4 separate regions of the Homo sapiens genome follow, and regions 2, 3 and 4 are each linked to region 1. Evidence: promoter capture Hi-C in 16 types of primary human blood cells and fetal thymus (Javierre and others, 2016). All regions are on one chromosome and are shown on one strand. The core of a region is centred on a gene start or on the middle of the fragment in contact, and the rest is flanking DNA. Distances in the headings are between cores, read along the strand shown.

What was found. The method cuts DNA at HindIII sites, captures the fragments that hold promoters and counts their contacts. A CHiCAGO score of 5 or more calls a contact.
Region 2: a contact is called between the fragment with the promoter of NLRC4 here and the fragment with the promoter of TTC27 in region 1, in 1 of 17 cell types (monocytes). The highest score is 5.3, in monocytes.
Region 3: a contact is called between a fragment that was not itself captured here and the fragment with the promoter of TTC27 in region 1, in 3 of 17 cell types (total CD8 T cells, naive CD8 T cells and fetal thymus). The highest score is 5.7, in total CD8 T cells.
Region 4: a contact is called between a fragment that was not itself captured here and the fragment with the promoter of TTC27 in region 1, in 2 of 17 cell types (non-activated CD4 T cells and total CD8 T cells). The highest score is 5.8, in non-activated CD4 T cells.

What each region holds. Positions count from the first base shown.
Region 1 is chr2:32,626,466-32,629,812 of GRCh38, forward strand. It overlaps TTC27 (tetratricopeptide repeat domain 27), which reads left to right and starts at 1,585. Exons shown (of 20, transcript NM_017735.5): 1 at 1,585-1,915. The coding sequence starts at 1,828. It overlaps LOC124905985 (a long non-coding RNA gene), which reads right to left and starts at 313. Exons shown (of 3, transcript XR_007086273.1): 1 at 168-313. RefSeq lists enhancers at 785-1,446, 1,165-1,224, 1,447-2,106, 1,635-1,694 and a silencer at 1,945-2,074. The HindIII fragment of the contact is 6,273 bases long and covers 1-3,347 here.
Region 2 is chr2:32,263,104-32,266,450 of GRCh38, forward strand. It overlaps NLRC4 (NLR family CARD domain containing 4), which reads right to left and starts at 1,783. Exons shown (of 9, transcript NM_001199138.2): 1 at 1,635-1,783. The HindIII fragment of the contact is 10,627 bases long and covers 1,556-3,347 here.
Region 3 is chr2:32,282,836-32,286,182 of GRCh38, forward strand. All of the region lies in intron 1 of YIPF4 (Yip1 domain family member 4), which reads left to right. Among named protein-coding and RNA genes, the nearest start is that of YIPF4, 6.6 kb to the left of the region's middle. The HindIII fragment of the contact is 1,189 bases long and covers 1,209-2,397 here.
Region 4 is chr2:32,370,281-32,373,627 of GRCh38, forward strand. The region is part of intron 1 of BIRC6 (baculoviral IAP repeat containing 6); the gene reads left to right. Among named protein-coding and RNA genes, the nearest start is that of BIRC6, 15 kb to the left of the region's middle. The HindIII fragment of the contact is 2,286 bases long and covers 372-2,657 here.

The DNA.
Region 1 (3,347 bases), core at 335-2,834:
GCCCAGGCTGGAGTGCAGTGGCGCGATCTTGGCTCACTGCGACCTCCGCCTCCTGGGTTCAGGCCATTCTCCTGCGGCAGCCTCCTGAGCAGCTGGGACTACAGGCGCCCGCCACTACGCCCGGCTAATTTTTTAAAAAAATATTTTTAGTAGAGATGGGGTTTCACCTTGTTAGGCAGGATGGTCTCCATCTCCTGACCTCATGATCCGCCCGCCTCGGCCTCCCAAAGTGCTGAGATTACAGGCGTGAGCCACTGCGCCCGGCCTGAAAAACAGTTTTTAATTACTTCTCAGTGGGAGGACATTTTAGGGCATCCGCTCTTCTCCAATCACAGTCAGGTCCGGCTTCCTTTGGTATCTGATGGCAATGGCTGAAATGAGCTGAGCTGAGTTCCTCTCCCTTCACATTCTGGAGTGGCTCTTTACTGAGTAAGAAAGTGAATTAACATTTATTTAGCTTCTTCCTTGGAGCTGGGTACCGGGTCAGCCTCTTTTCAGAGAGCTTTTGCTCTTGTGGTCAGAGTTACCCTGCAGTTTTCTCCTGGCTCTTACATGACATATCTCAGTACAGGTGTCAAGCCAATGGGACAAAGCCATAGTCCTGTTTTCCTTCCCTCCTTCCCTCCCTCCCTCCCTTCCTTCCTTCTTCCCTCCCTCCCTCCCTCTTTCCTATTGCCCAGGCTGGAGTGCAGTGGCACCATCTCAGCTCACTGAAACCTCCGCCTCCCGGGTTCAAGCAATTCCCCCGCCTCACCGTCCCGAGTAGCTGGGTTTACAGGGGTGCCCCACTACGTCCGGCTAATTTTTGTATTTTTAGTAGAGACGGGTTTCACCATATTGGCCAGGCTGGTCTCGAACTCCTGACCTCAGGTGATCCATCCGCTTCATCCTCCCAAAGTGCTGAGATTACAGGCGTGAGCTACCGCGCCCGCCCTCTAACTGTTTCTTTGGAGTGCTGCTAGGAAGATTCAAAGAAGTGCAAATAAGGTACCAGCGGAGGCTGGTTTGTCTCCTTGCAATTTCTTTGTGATCACCCCTGGGATCACTCTTCTACAGCGTTCCGACAGTGTTCCAAAAACTTCCCTGCACCAGCGGCAGGGGCAGATTTCCCACCCGGCCATGATTCATGTAGAGCAGTGTCAAAACCAGATCCTTTCCTTACACGCTCATTCGCCGAAAGACCCATGCTATGCTGACGGGGTTCCAACCTGGGCTTCACCGACTCCACGTCAGAGGGTCTGTGATTCCCTGAGAGGGTACCCTTAGGCTGAGAGCAAGGGCCCACCTGCACTCTGCGCGAAGGACTGTGGTTTTCATCGGGTTGTCGAGAGCGTTCTAACCCAAAATGCTTTAAGAATCACAACTCTAGCCCTTCTAATCAAACTGCTTTGGCCAAGACGTCCGTTTTGAGTTGCATTTGAACCCTAGCCCTCGGTGGGAGGCACACTCACTTCCACGTTCACAGTTCTTGGAAGCGGTCCCACTGGGGGCGGGGCTGAGCGCGACCGCGCCCTCAACTCCCCCTATTGCCCGCCCCGGGGTGGGGCATAACCACCCAACAGGCTCCTTACTCAAGCTCGGGTTCTTCTCCTAGGCGGAAGCCAGACCAGAGAGCGTGCGTGTTTTTCCCAGGGTGCCCCGCGCTGCTGTTATGGCCGCCTCCTTGAGGTAGTATCCGCACATGGAATTCTAGGGCCGCAGGTGTATTTACGGTAACTGTCGCCACTAGATTTCAGCGCCTTTGGACTCTCCTGTTTTCACTTTCTTTTGTTGACTCCCGTGTGGCCCTCGTGGGAGCCTGTTTTGGCTGCAGCGGTGTCTGGGGTGATGTGGACCCCGGAGCTGGCAATTCTGAGGGGATTCCCCACTGAGGCTGAGCGGCAGCAATGGAAACAGGAGGGGGTCGTCGGTTCAGGTGAGAGGCGCACCTACCGGGCCTTAGGCTATCGTGGGAACTGTGAGGAAAAGGGATGGCAGCGACTGATTCTCATCCCTCCCTTCATTTTTCCCTAACACAGTCTAGCTGATTCCTTGAGGCTTTGGGTCGTTTAGTCTTTGACATGGTGGGCGTGGTCCTCACTTTCTTTGCGCAAAACTTCTTACCGCCCAGGTTCAGTAATAATGACAATGGCAATGTCAGTTATTTTTCTAAGCCCTTAACATGTACTCAGTCATTTAATGCTTATAGTAGATACTTAAGGTAGATTCAATTTTTAATCCCATTTTGCGGTGAAGATCTGTAAATACAGTTGGGTTAAGTAATTTTATTTTATCTATTTATTTATTTATTTATTTATTTATTTATTTATTTATTGAGACGGAGTTTTGCTTTTTGCCCAGGCTGGAGTGCAATGGCGCGATCTCGGCTCGCTGCAACCTCCGCCTCCCGGGTTCAAGTGATTCTCCTGCCTCAGCCTCCAGGGTAGCTGGGATTACAGGCATGCGCCACCACGCCCGGCTAATTTTGTATTTTTAGTAGAGTCGAGGTTTCACCATGTTGGCCTAGCTGGTCTGGAACTCCTGACCTCAGATGATTCGCCTGCCTCAGCCTCCCAAAGTGCTGGGATTACAGGCCTGAGCCACCGCGCCCGGGTCTGGTTAAGTAATTTATTTAAGGTCACACTGTTGGTAAGCAGAGGAGCTAAAATGAGGCAGCAAAGTTGTTTTTTTGGGGGGATGGAGTCTCCCTCTTGTTGCTCTGGCTGGAGTGCACTGGTGCCATCTCGGCTCACTGCAACCTCCGCTTCCCCGGTTCAAGCGATTCTCCTGCTTCAGCCTCCAAAGTAGCTGGGACTACAGGCATGCACCACCATGCCCGGCTAATTTTGTGTTTTTAGTAGAGACGGCTTTCATCATGTTGGTCAGGCTGGTCTGGAACTCCTGACCTCAGGTGATCCACCCGCCTCGGCCTCCCAAAGTGCTGGGATTACAGCCATGAGCCACCATGCACGGCCTAGGCGGCAATGATTTATTTTTTTTATTTTTTTGAGACAGAGTCTCGCTCTGTCGCCTAGGCTGGAGTGCAGTGGCGCGATCTCGGCTCACTGCAAGCTCCACCTCCCGGGTTCACGCCATTCTCCTGCCTCAGCCTCCCGAGTAGCTGGGACTAAAGGCGCCTGCCACCACGACCAGCTAATTTTTTTTTTTGTATTTTTAGTAGAGACGGGGTTTCACCGTGTTAGCCAGGATGGTCTCGATCTCCTGACGTCGTGATCCACCCACCTCGGCCTCCCAAAGTGCTGGGATTACAGGCATGAGCCACCGCGCCCAGCCTAGGAGGCAAAGATTAATTCTTGTGAGCAATGAATATTTACCAGAGAGATAAAGAGTTAAAAGGCACATGCACT
Region 2 (3,347 bases), core at 533-3,032, 360 kb before region 1:
CCCATATAACCCACGTCTATGGGGTCATTCCCACACCTCACAGATAAAATAAGGGAAAGAGTACATATAATTAGGAGCAGACAGGAAGCACACAGAAATGGAAAATGTGTGTGGGCTTTGGCATTGCAGATCTGAATTCAAATCCTCACTCTGCACCTTATGAGGTAAGTATCCCTAGACATGTTACTTAGCCTTTCCGAATCTTGCTTTCCAAATCATGCATAATATTCACCTCCCTGGACTATTGTGAAGATTAAACATGAAAGTAGTTGTGACAAAGATGGTCAGTGGGTATTATCTGTCTTCCTTTCTAGTAAAAAGGCTCTAGACTAGAATGTTCTTAGGTCTTTAATAGGCTTCAGCAATCTCACATGTTAATATTAGTGTTATGTGCTGAACTGGGCTTCCCCCAAATCCATATGTTGAAGCCCTGAACCTCAGAATGTGACTGTATTTGCAGACAGAGCCTTTAAAGAGGTCATTAAGCTCAAATGAGGCTGTTATGAGAAGAGGAAATCGGGACACACAAAGGGAGATACCAGGAATGTGCATACAGAGAGAAAAGGCCAAGGAGGGAGGCGTGGGGAGAAGCCAACCCTGCTGACACCTTGGTCTTGGACTTGCAGCCTCCAGAACTGTGGGAATATAAATTTCTGTTGTTTAAGCCACCCAGTCTATGGTATTTTAAACACATTAATACGACTAATATTATAAAAGTGTGTGAACAGTTAAGAAGTGTGCTGACCAGGTTCTATCCTAGTTTTGTAGACAATTAGCAGTGTGATGTAGGGCAGGACATTTAACTCCTCTCTACCACATTTTCCACCTCTCAAAGCCAGGCTGCAAGGATCTACTGAGATAATGTACATAAAGACCCTATCACGAAATAGGTGTCCCGTAAAGGGTGATTTCCTTCACTTCTGTCTCCAAATATCAGGTTTCTCATCAGTAACTTGGGAGATTGGATGGACTAAGTAGTCCACCTCGTTCCTTTCAGCTTTGATCATCTGTGATTCTAACAACAGTCTTAGCAACAAGAGTGAGTTTCCTGGCCGGGCACGTTGGCTCACACCTGTAATCCCAGCACTTTGGGAGGCTGAGGTGGGCAGATCACGAGGTCAGGAGTTGAGACCAGTCTGGCCAACATGGTGAAACCCTGTCTCTACTAAAAATACAAAAATTAGCTGGGGCGCGGTGCCGGGTGCCTGTAATCCCAGCTACTTGGGAGGCTGAGGCAGGAGAATTGCTTGAACCCAGGAGGCAGAGGTTGCAGTGAGCCGAGATCACGCCACTGCAGTCCAGCCTGGGTGACAGAGCAAGACTCTGTCTCAAAAAAAAAAAAAAAAAAAGAGTGAGTTTCCTTTCTGTAATGCCAAAAAGTGTTTCCAAAGTCCTTTCCATCTCACAGTAGTCCAAGGGGTACATGTACCCCTTGAACCTGATGAAGCCCCAGCAGACCCGATTAACCACCCCTAAAGGTTTCTCGGCAGGCAAATCCAGCCAGGCATGCAAATCACACTCGTCAATGTTAAGGCTTTTGTACATCCCAGACACAAGCTTTAAATGAATGTAAACCCAGATTTTAATATTTGGGCCCCAGACCTTAAAAATCCCATTCTCTCTACCCACAGTACCTGGCTGAGCAATCCAATTGCCCTCTTCTTGGGAGACCAAGACATGTTTTTAAAATAAAGTTTCTTTGTATTTGCTTTCCGTTTCAGTGAGGCCTCGAGTTCTTGTAGACCAGATACCTTCTTGTTCTGTGAGAGGACAGTGTACAGAGAGGGGAACTGCTGAGCAGTTCCTTTTTTTTTTTTCAAAGCACAGTAAGAGTGGTTTGGACACAAGTACTACCAGTTCAGAAAGGGAAGATGGGTGTAGGCAGGAGTAGCCGGGGAAGAAGTAGAACTTCAGAGTAAAAGATGCAAGAGCTAGAAATTCCGTCAAGAAAGGAATTACTCATTTGTTTCCTGTTTGTTCACAACATATGAATTCATTGCTGTTGAGTTACTTATTCTATACCTTAAAATGAAACAAAGTCTTCTGAACATCCAACATATATTTTTTTTCTTTTTCTTTCTTTTTTCTTTTTTTTGAGACAGAGTCTTGTTCTGTCACCCAAGCTGGAGGGCAGTGGCACAATCTCAGCTCACTGCAACCTCTGCCTCCCGGGTTCAAGCGTTCCTCCCGCCTCAGTCCTCCCAGTAGCTAAGACTACAGGCGTGCACCACCATGCCCGGCTAATTTTTGTATTTTTAGTAGAGACAGAATTTCACCATGTTGGCCAGGCTGGTCTCGAACTCCTGACCTCAGGCAATCTGCCAGCCTCAGCCTCCCAAAGTGCTGGGATTACAGGCGTGAGCCACCATGCCCAGCCACAACATGTATTTTTAATGCTTAACCATGGGAGATAGAGCGGTAAATGAAATGAGCCAGCTTAGTTGGCTAAAGCACATTGCTACTGCATTCAAGGTCATGCTTACCCCTGTACCTTGAATCCCAGAGGACTTCCAGCAGATGTGTTCTCTCAGTCAGCAGGGTTCTGGGCAAGGTCACACAGGGCAAACAGATCACCAGTTTTGGTCCACTCCACCGATGACGCACGGGGACACCCTCCGGAGTATAAACAGCCAGGGGCTTGCACAGGCACACTCACATTGGACGTTTGTGTTCACAGACTCCAGGAGGCCAGCTTATACTCAGCTGAGGACTGAAGAAATCTCTCTGCACTTCCCTTGAGGATGACATTCTTGCATACTCTTTCCTCTGTCTTTGCATAAACTACCAGGAACATGTCTTTGTGTTACATAACTTCTTATTTCAAAAAGAGCATTCTGACAGTAGCCTATCTGCCATAGAGGGATACCAAAGTTTCCCGGCAAATAAATGTCTACATCCTGGGTTTTCTAAGGGGGCATCAGTGTCAGTGTTTCCCAACTTGTGAGGTGGGTTTCTCTGAAGTGAGATTGAGGGCTACACTATCAGCTAGATTTTTAAATTGTAATGAAACCTATATATAAACATATGTTCAAGAGAAAAAACTGCAAAGACAGCCACCAAAATAGTAATGATGCTTATTGCTGGGGAATACAATTATAAGCAATTTTAAATTTCTGTCTTTGGCTTATCTGTATATTCTAATTTTATTTATCAACTTATTTATTTTTTATTTTATTTGTTTATTTATTTATTTATTTATTTATTTGAGACAGAGTCTCGTTCTGTTGCCCAGGCTGGAGTGGAGTGCAGTGGCTCAATCTTGGCTCACTGCAACCTCTGCCTCCCAGGCTCAAGCAATTCTTGTGCCTCAGCCTCTCAAGTAGCTGGGATTTCAGGTGTGGGCCACC
Region 3 (3,347 bases), core at 553-3,052, 340 kb before region 1:
GGAGGCCGAGGTGGGCGGATCACGAGGTCAGGAGATCAAGACCATCCTGGCTAACAAGGTGAAACCCAGTCTCTACTAAAAATACAAAAAAATTAGCCGGGGGTGGTGGCGGGTGCCTGTAGTCCCAGCTACTCTGGAGGCTGAGGCAGGAGAATGGCGTGAACCTGGGAGGTGGGGCTTGCAGTGAGCCAAGATCGCGCCACTGCACTCCCGCCTGGGCGACAGAGTGAGACTGTCTCAAAAAAAAAAAAAAAAAAGGAATACCCAAGTGCTCAAATACTTTGTAAATGTAAAACATTTACTACTATATCTGGCAGAGTTAAGTGTTCAACATATGTGAGTAATGATGTTGCTGCTTGGGTTTCAGTGTTAACTGACCCCACACTTTTTTTTTATTGTTTTCCAACATGAACATTTTACTGTACAACTCCGGGTCTTTTCCCTGGTTTCTACACGTCATATAAATTCTTGCTTCTCCCCTTTTTATAGTGTTTTTTAACCATGAATATTTTCAACTTACAGATGTTTTCAGTGTATAACCTTCCTTCTAGATTCTGTCCAAATCCCTCATTCTTAATGATAGCTATCCTTACTATTTCTCCACACATACCCTTTATTCTAAAATGTGCTTTGGTGTTTTGTCTCCATGTGGATGCAGATTCTGATCATCATGCTTAGAATGTCTTTCTCCTCCTCGCCTTAAGTTAAAACCTAAGACTGAACTCAAATGCTCTTTCCTTGGTAAAACTTGCTTTAACTGTCCCTCAGAAACGGAAACTTCCTAATATTTTCTATACCCCAGTACCTATCATAGAACCCATGGTATAAATATCACAAAAGAATTATTTGTTGAATAAATTATTTTTGCTTTCATTTATCTCATGTCTTTTTTTTTTTTTGAGACAAGAGTCTCGCTGTGTTGCCCGGGCTGGAGTGCAATGGCGCAATCTTGGCTCATTGCAACCTCTGCCTCCCAGGTTCAAGCAATTCTCCTGCCTCAGCCTCCCAAGTAGCTGGGATTACAGGTGCCTGCCACCATGCTCGGCTAATTTTTGTATTTTTTTAATAGAGACGGGGTTTTACCACGTTGGTCAGGCTGGTCTCAAACTCCTGACCTCAAGTGATCCGCCCACCTCTGCCTCCCAAAGTGCTGGGATTGATTACAGGCATGAGTCACCACGCCAGGCCTAATATCACTTCTTAATTTAAGCTTTATGGTATTGTTTGCCCTTCCATCAATTAATTCATTCAATAAGCATGCACATTTGTTGATTGCCTACTATGGATCAGGCACTATTATAAGTACTGGGGATATATGTACCAAGACAAATGCCACCAAAAATCCCAAATAGTCTCTCCTTTCATAGATTTTATAAACAACCAAGTAATTACACAAATATATAATTATATATAGTGATAAATATCGTGAAGGAAAAGTGGAGGGAACTGTGAAAGGAACTTACATAGTCTAGTCTGCAGGATCAAGGAAAATTTGCTTAAGCGAGTGTAATGGTTTGGATTTGTGTCCCTGCCCAAATCTCATGTTGAATTGTAATCTTCAGTGTTGGAGGAGAGGCCTGGTGGGAGGTGACTGGATCATGGGGGTGGACTTCCCTCTTGCTGTTCTTGTCATAGTGAGTTCTCACAAGGTCTGGTTTTTTAAAAGGGTGTAGCACCTCCACTGTCTGTCTCTCCCTCCTCTGGCCATGTAAAACTGCCTGCTTCCCCTTTGCAATCTGCCGTGATTGTAAGTTTCCTAAGGCATACCCAGCCATGCTTCCTGTAGAGCCTGTGGAACTGTGAGTCAAACCTCTTTTGTTTATAAATTACTCAGTCTCAGGTAGTTCTTTAGAGCAATGCAAGAATGGACTAATACAGCAAGTATATCTGAGAACTGAAGAATGGATGGCATTTAATTATCTGAAGTTGGAGGAAACAGCCTGGCACAAGGTCCCTGAGACAAACAGAATCCAGGTTCATTCAGAGAAATGAGAGGCTTAGTGTGGCTAGGGTATAGAGTCCAGATTGAGAGGAGAGCAGGTAAGTGGGCCTGGATAAGATAGGGCATGTAGAGATTATTGGACTTGAGCTAGAAAAGCAACTGGGGGAGGGAGATGAAGGATTCTAAACAAAAGAGTGAAATATTTGCATCTTAGAAAGAGTCTCCGGGGTACAGTGAAGAGTATGGATTGGAAGGAGACAAGAATGACTGGGGGGAGGGCAGTTTGTACACCATTATAATCATGCAGACAGGAGTTGATGGTTTGCATGAGCTTGCTACTGGTGGTAGAAATGGTAAGTGGACAGACATTTAAAAATATTTAGAGGTAAAACTGACAATTTAGTGGTGGTTTGGATGGAGAGGAAGCATGCAAATAAAGCAAACTGTCAAGGATAAGCTTCTAGCTTACAATGCTGGATAGATTAGTAGTATCATTTAATGAAAAAAATGGAGGAAGACCTGAGATATATCAGTTTTGGAATATTGAATTTTAGATGCCTTTGAGATAGATGCAAGGAAATGTTGACAATAGGTTATATAAATCTAGTGAAGAGGACTGGACTCAATATATTGCATTTCAACCTTGGCCTTCTTCAGTCTTTTTATCCCTATATAAAAATTATAATACCTGCAGCTCACAATACAGTGATCAGTAAATTGTAGATAATTACTATCAGTGTTCTTTTGAGTGATACTTTTCTGTCACTCTGTTATTGTGACCATTTCAGCCTATTCTTTGTTTGAAATTCCCCCTTCCCAGAAAGGATGTCACCTCTAATACAAGTTAGTAATGTAGACAGAGGAATCTTTAGTTTTTCCTTTTTTTTTTTTTTTTGGAGACGGAGTCTTGCTGTGTCACCCAGGCTAGAGTGCAGTGGTGCGATCTCAGCTCATTGCAACCTCCACCTCCCAGGCTCAAGCAATTCTCCTGCCTCAGCCTCCCAAGTAGCTGGGATTACAGGTGCTCGCCACCGCACCCGGCTAATTTTTGTATTTTTGGTAGAGATGGGGTTTCACTGTCTTGGCCAGGTTGGTCTCGAAGTCTATGATTCCTACTTATGAAAAATAATATCCATATAGGTCTAGTCTTATCACAAATGTTTTCTATACAATATGCTGGTGAAGTATGATATATAGTATGTAATGGGTGCAAGAATAACTTTTATTTCCTTTTTGAAAACTGAAAATGACATTTTAGCCAACCTTTCTTAGGGGAGTTAAACAAGGTTTACTTTTTTCATTAATTAATCTACTTATTTGCATGAGTTTTAAAACTCATAAGGCATTACACAAATCTACAAATGTGATTAAATTGCATAGAACTATAAACACATATACACACACA
Region 4 (3,347 bases), core at 265-2,764, 260 kb before region 1:
AACAAATGATGTCAGATACTAAAGATTATAGCAAAGTAAGTGGTCTGATGACACTTTTGGTTAATGTGAATGAAGAGAATCATAACTTGGAACTCTTAATTCCAGTAATTTTGTATCTTTTGGAGAACCTCTTCTGTGCTTAAGTAGATGTTGGTTCTCTTGCCTGAAACAACACTGTCCCTGCATTGTGTTTTATGTTGTATTTTATCATGTGTTACCCCTTTCTTTGTGGTGCAGTCACTGACCTTTCCCAAACTTGTTTTGCAGTGAGTTCTGCTTCATAGGAATACTCATTTTGGCTTTTAATACTATAGTGTTACTAACATTTTTTCTCTTATTAAATGATTTCATTTTTGGTTAATTATATCAAAAGCTTTGTGAGAACCTTACATTAATTTTGTACCTTCTTTTTAAAAAATTTTAAAAATTCTTGTGGGTACATAGTAGGTGTATATATTTTTGGGTTACAGGAGATGTTCTGATACAGGCTTGTATCTTCTTTATTGACTTTGAATGATCTTTGCATATAGTACCTTTTAATAGGCTATTTTAAAATAGCGTTGAAGTCTGATGAGATGTCAGTGGAAATGGAGTTTTACAGTGTATTGTCAGTTTGAAAAGATAATGTATTTCTTGTAACATTTTTGCAAGTTTTTTAGGGTTGTACATTATTTCTTAAAGTATTAGAATTGGTAACTAATTAAAATTTCTTTCCTTTGAAATTTTCAATTTTGCCATCCTGGGCAACATGGCAAAACCCTGTCTCTACAAAAAATACAGAAATTAGCCGGGCGTGCTGTCACACACCTGTAGTCTCAGCTACTTGGGAGGCTGAGGCGGGAGGATTGCTTGAGCCTGGGAGGCAGAGGTTGCAGTGAGTTGAGATTGCGCCATTGCACCACTCCAGCCTGGGCAACAGAGTGAGACCCTGTCTCAAAAAAAAAAAAAAAAAAAAAAAAAGGAAATTTTCAGTTTTAAAAGGGACATACCTTATAGGATGTTAGACAGACTAAGGAAAAAGTAAGTACGTATAATTTCATTACCTAGAGATGGGCATTGTTAACATTTTGGCATTTCTTTTTACTTTCTTCTATTAGTATTATTTTTTTTTGGAGACAGAGTCTCGCTCTGTTGCCCAGGCTGGAGAGCAGCGGTGCAATCTCAGCTCACTGCAACCTCTGCCTTCTGGGTTTAAGTGAGTCTCCTGCCTCAGCCTTCCGAGCAGCTGGGACTACAGGTTCATGCCGCCATGCCCGGCTAATTTTTTGTATTTTAGTAGAGACAAAATACAGGGGTTTCACTGTGTTACCCAGGCTGCTCTCAAACTCCTGAGCTCAGGCAATCCGCCCGCCTCGGCCTCCCAAAGTGCTGGGATTACAGGCATGAGCTACCATGCCTGGCCTCTTCTATTGTTTAATATATTTTTATAGAATTTGGATCATAGTGATGTGTTATGAACTACCCCCTCCTTAGTTAATAGCATAGTTAATAGGCTATTGCTCCATGTGTACATGTTTATTCTTTTTTTGTTTGTTTGTGTTTTGAGACAGAGTCTCACTCCGTCACCCAGGCTAGAGTGCAATGGCGCGATCTCGGCTCACTGCAACCTCCACCTCCCTGGTTCCAGTGATTCTTCTGCCTCAGCCTCCTGAGTAGCTGGGATTACAGGTGCCTGCCACCGTGCCCAGTTATTTTTGTATTTTTAGTAGAGACAGGGTTTCACCAGGTTGGCCAGGCTGGTCTCGAACTCCTGACCTCAAGTGATCCGCCCGCCTCGGCCTCTTGAAGTGCTGGGATTACAGGTGTGAAGGCATTGCGCTTGGGTGTGTTTTTTCCTTTACAATATCATTTAAAAATTTTTATTTTTTATAGAATATAAAGTAAAGTTGTCTATTTTTTGTGTACTTGTCATACAGGTACACACATGCATAGATTGATGTAACCCACCATCACAGTCAGGATACAGACCAGTTTCAACACCTGAAAAAATTCCCTGTGGTATCACTTTGTAGTCACATCTTCCCTTTACCACTAATCTTTTGGGACCACTGATCTGTTCTCCATACTATGGAGTTTTGTGTTTTCTACATTGTTACTGAAATGTAATCATTCAGTATGTAACCTGTTGATGCTAGCTGCTTGCACTTAGCATGATGCCCTTGAGATTCTGTCAAGTTTTTGCATGTATTAATATTTCATTCCTTTTTTATTACTGAATAGTATTCCATCGTATTGATGCATCATTATTTGTTTTGCCAGTCACTCTTTGAAATATGTTTGGGGCTGGGTGTGGTGGCTTATTCTGTAATCCCAGCACTTAGGGAGGCTGAGGTGGGCACATCACTTGAGACCAGGTTGGGCAACATGGCAAAACTTTGTATCTACAAAAAATACTAAAAATTAGCCAGACATCATGGTGTGCGCCTGTAGTCCCAGCTACTTGGGAGGCTAAGATGGGAGGATTACCTGAGCCCTGGAGGTCAAAGCTGTGGTGAGCAGTGATTTCGCCACTATATTCCAGCCTGAGTGACATAGTGAGACCTTGTCTCAAAAAAAGACAAAGAGAAAGAAAAAAAAACATTTGGGTGTTTTCAATGTTTGATGATTATAAATAGAGCGACTATAAACTTCTGAGTATAGATTTTTGTGTGAACATAAGCTTTTATGTCTCCAGGGTAAATACACAGAAGTGGGATTACAGGGCCATTTGGTAAGTTTGTGTTTAACTTTGTAAGAAACTGTCAAACCAGTGTGGCTGTACCATTTGTATTTCCTTTAGAAATGTATGAGAGTTCCAGTTGTTCTGCATCCTTGCCAGAACTTCATACTATCTTTATATTGTTAAGATATCTATACTGCCCCAAACAATTTGCAGACTCATTGCAATTTGCAGACTCATTGCAATTCCTATCAAAATCCCAGTAACTTTTTTCTATTTCTGCAGGAAAAAAAAAAAATCTGTTCTAAAATTCATATAGAATCTCAAGGGACCCTAAATAGTTCAACATAATCTTGACAAAGAACAGAGTTGGAAGATTAACACTTGATTTCAAAATTTAGTATGAAGCTACAGTAATCAATATAGCAAAGTACCAGCATAAAGATGGACATATAGACTGAAGGAATATAGAGCCGAGAAATAAACTATTGCATATATGGTCAAATGATTTTCAGCAAGGAGGCCAAGACCATTCATTGGGGGAAGCGACAATCTTTTCAACAAATGTTGCTGGGAAGACTGGATACTCACGTGCAAAAAGTATAAAGTTGGACTTTAACACCATATACAAAATACAACAACGGAGAATAAGTGTTGGTGAGGATGTGGAGAAATTGGCACTCTTGTG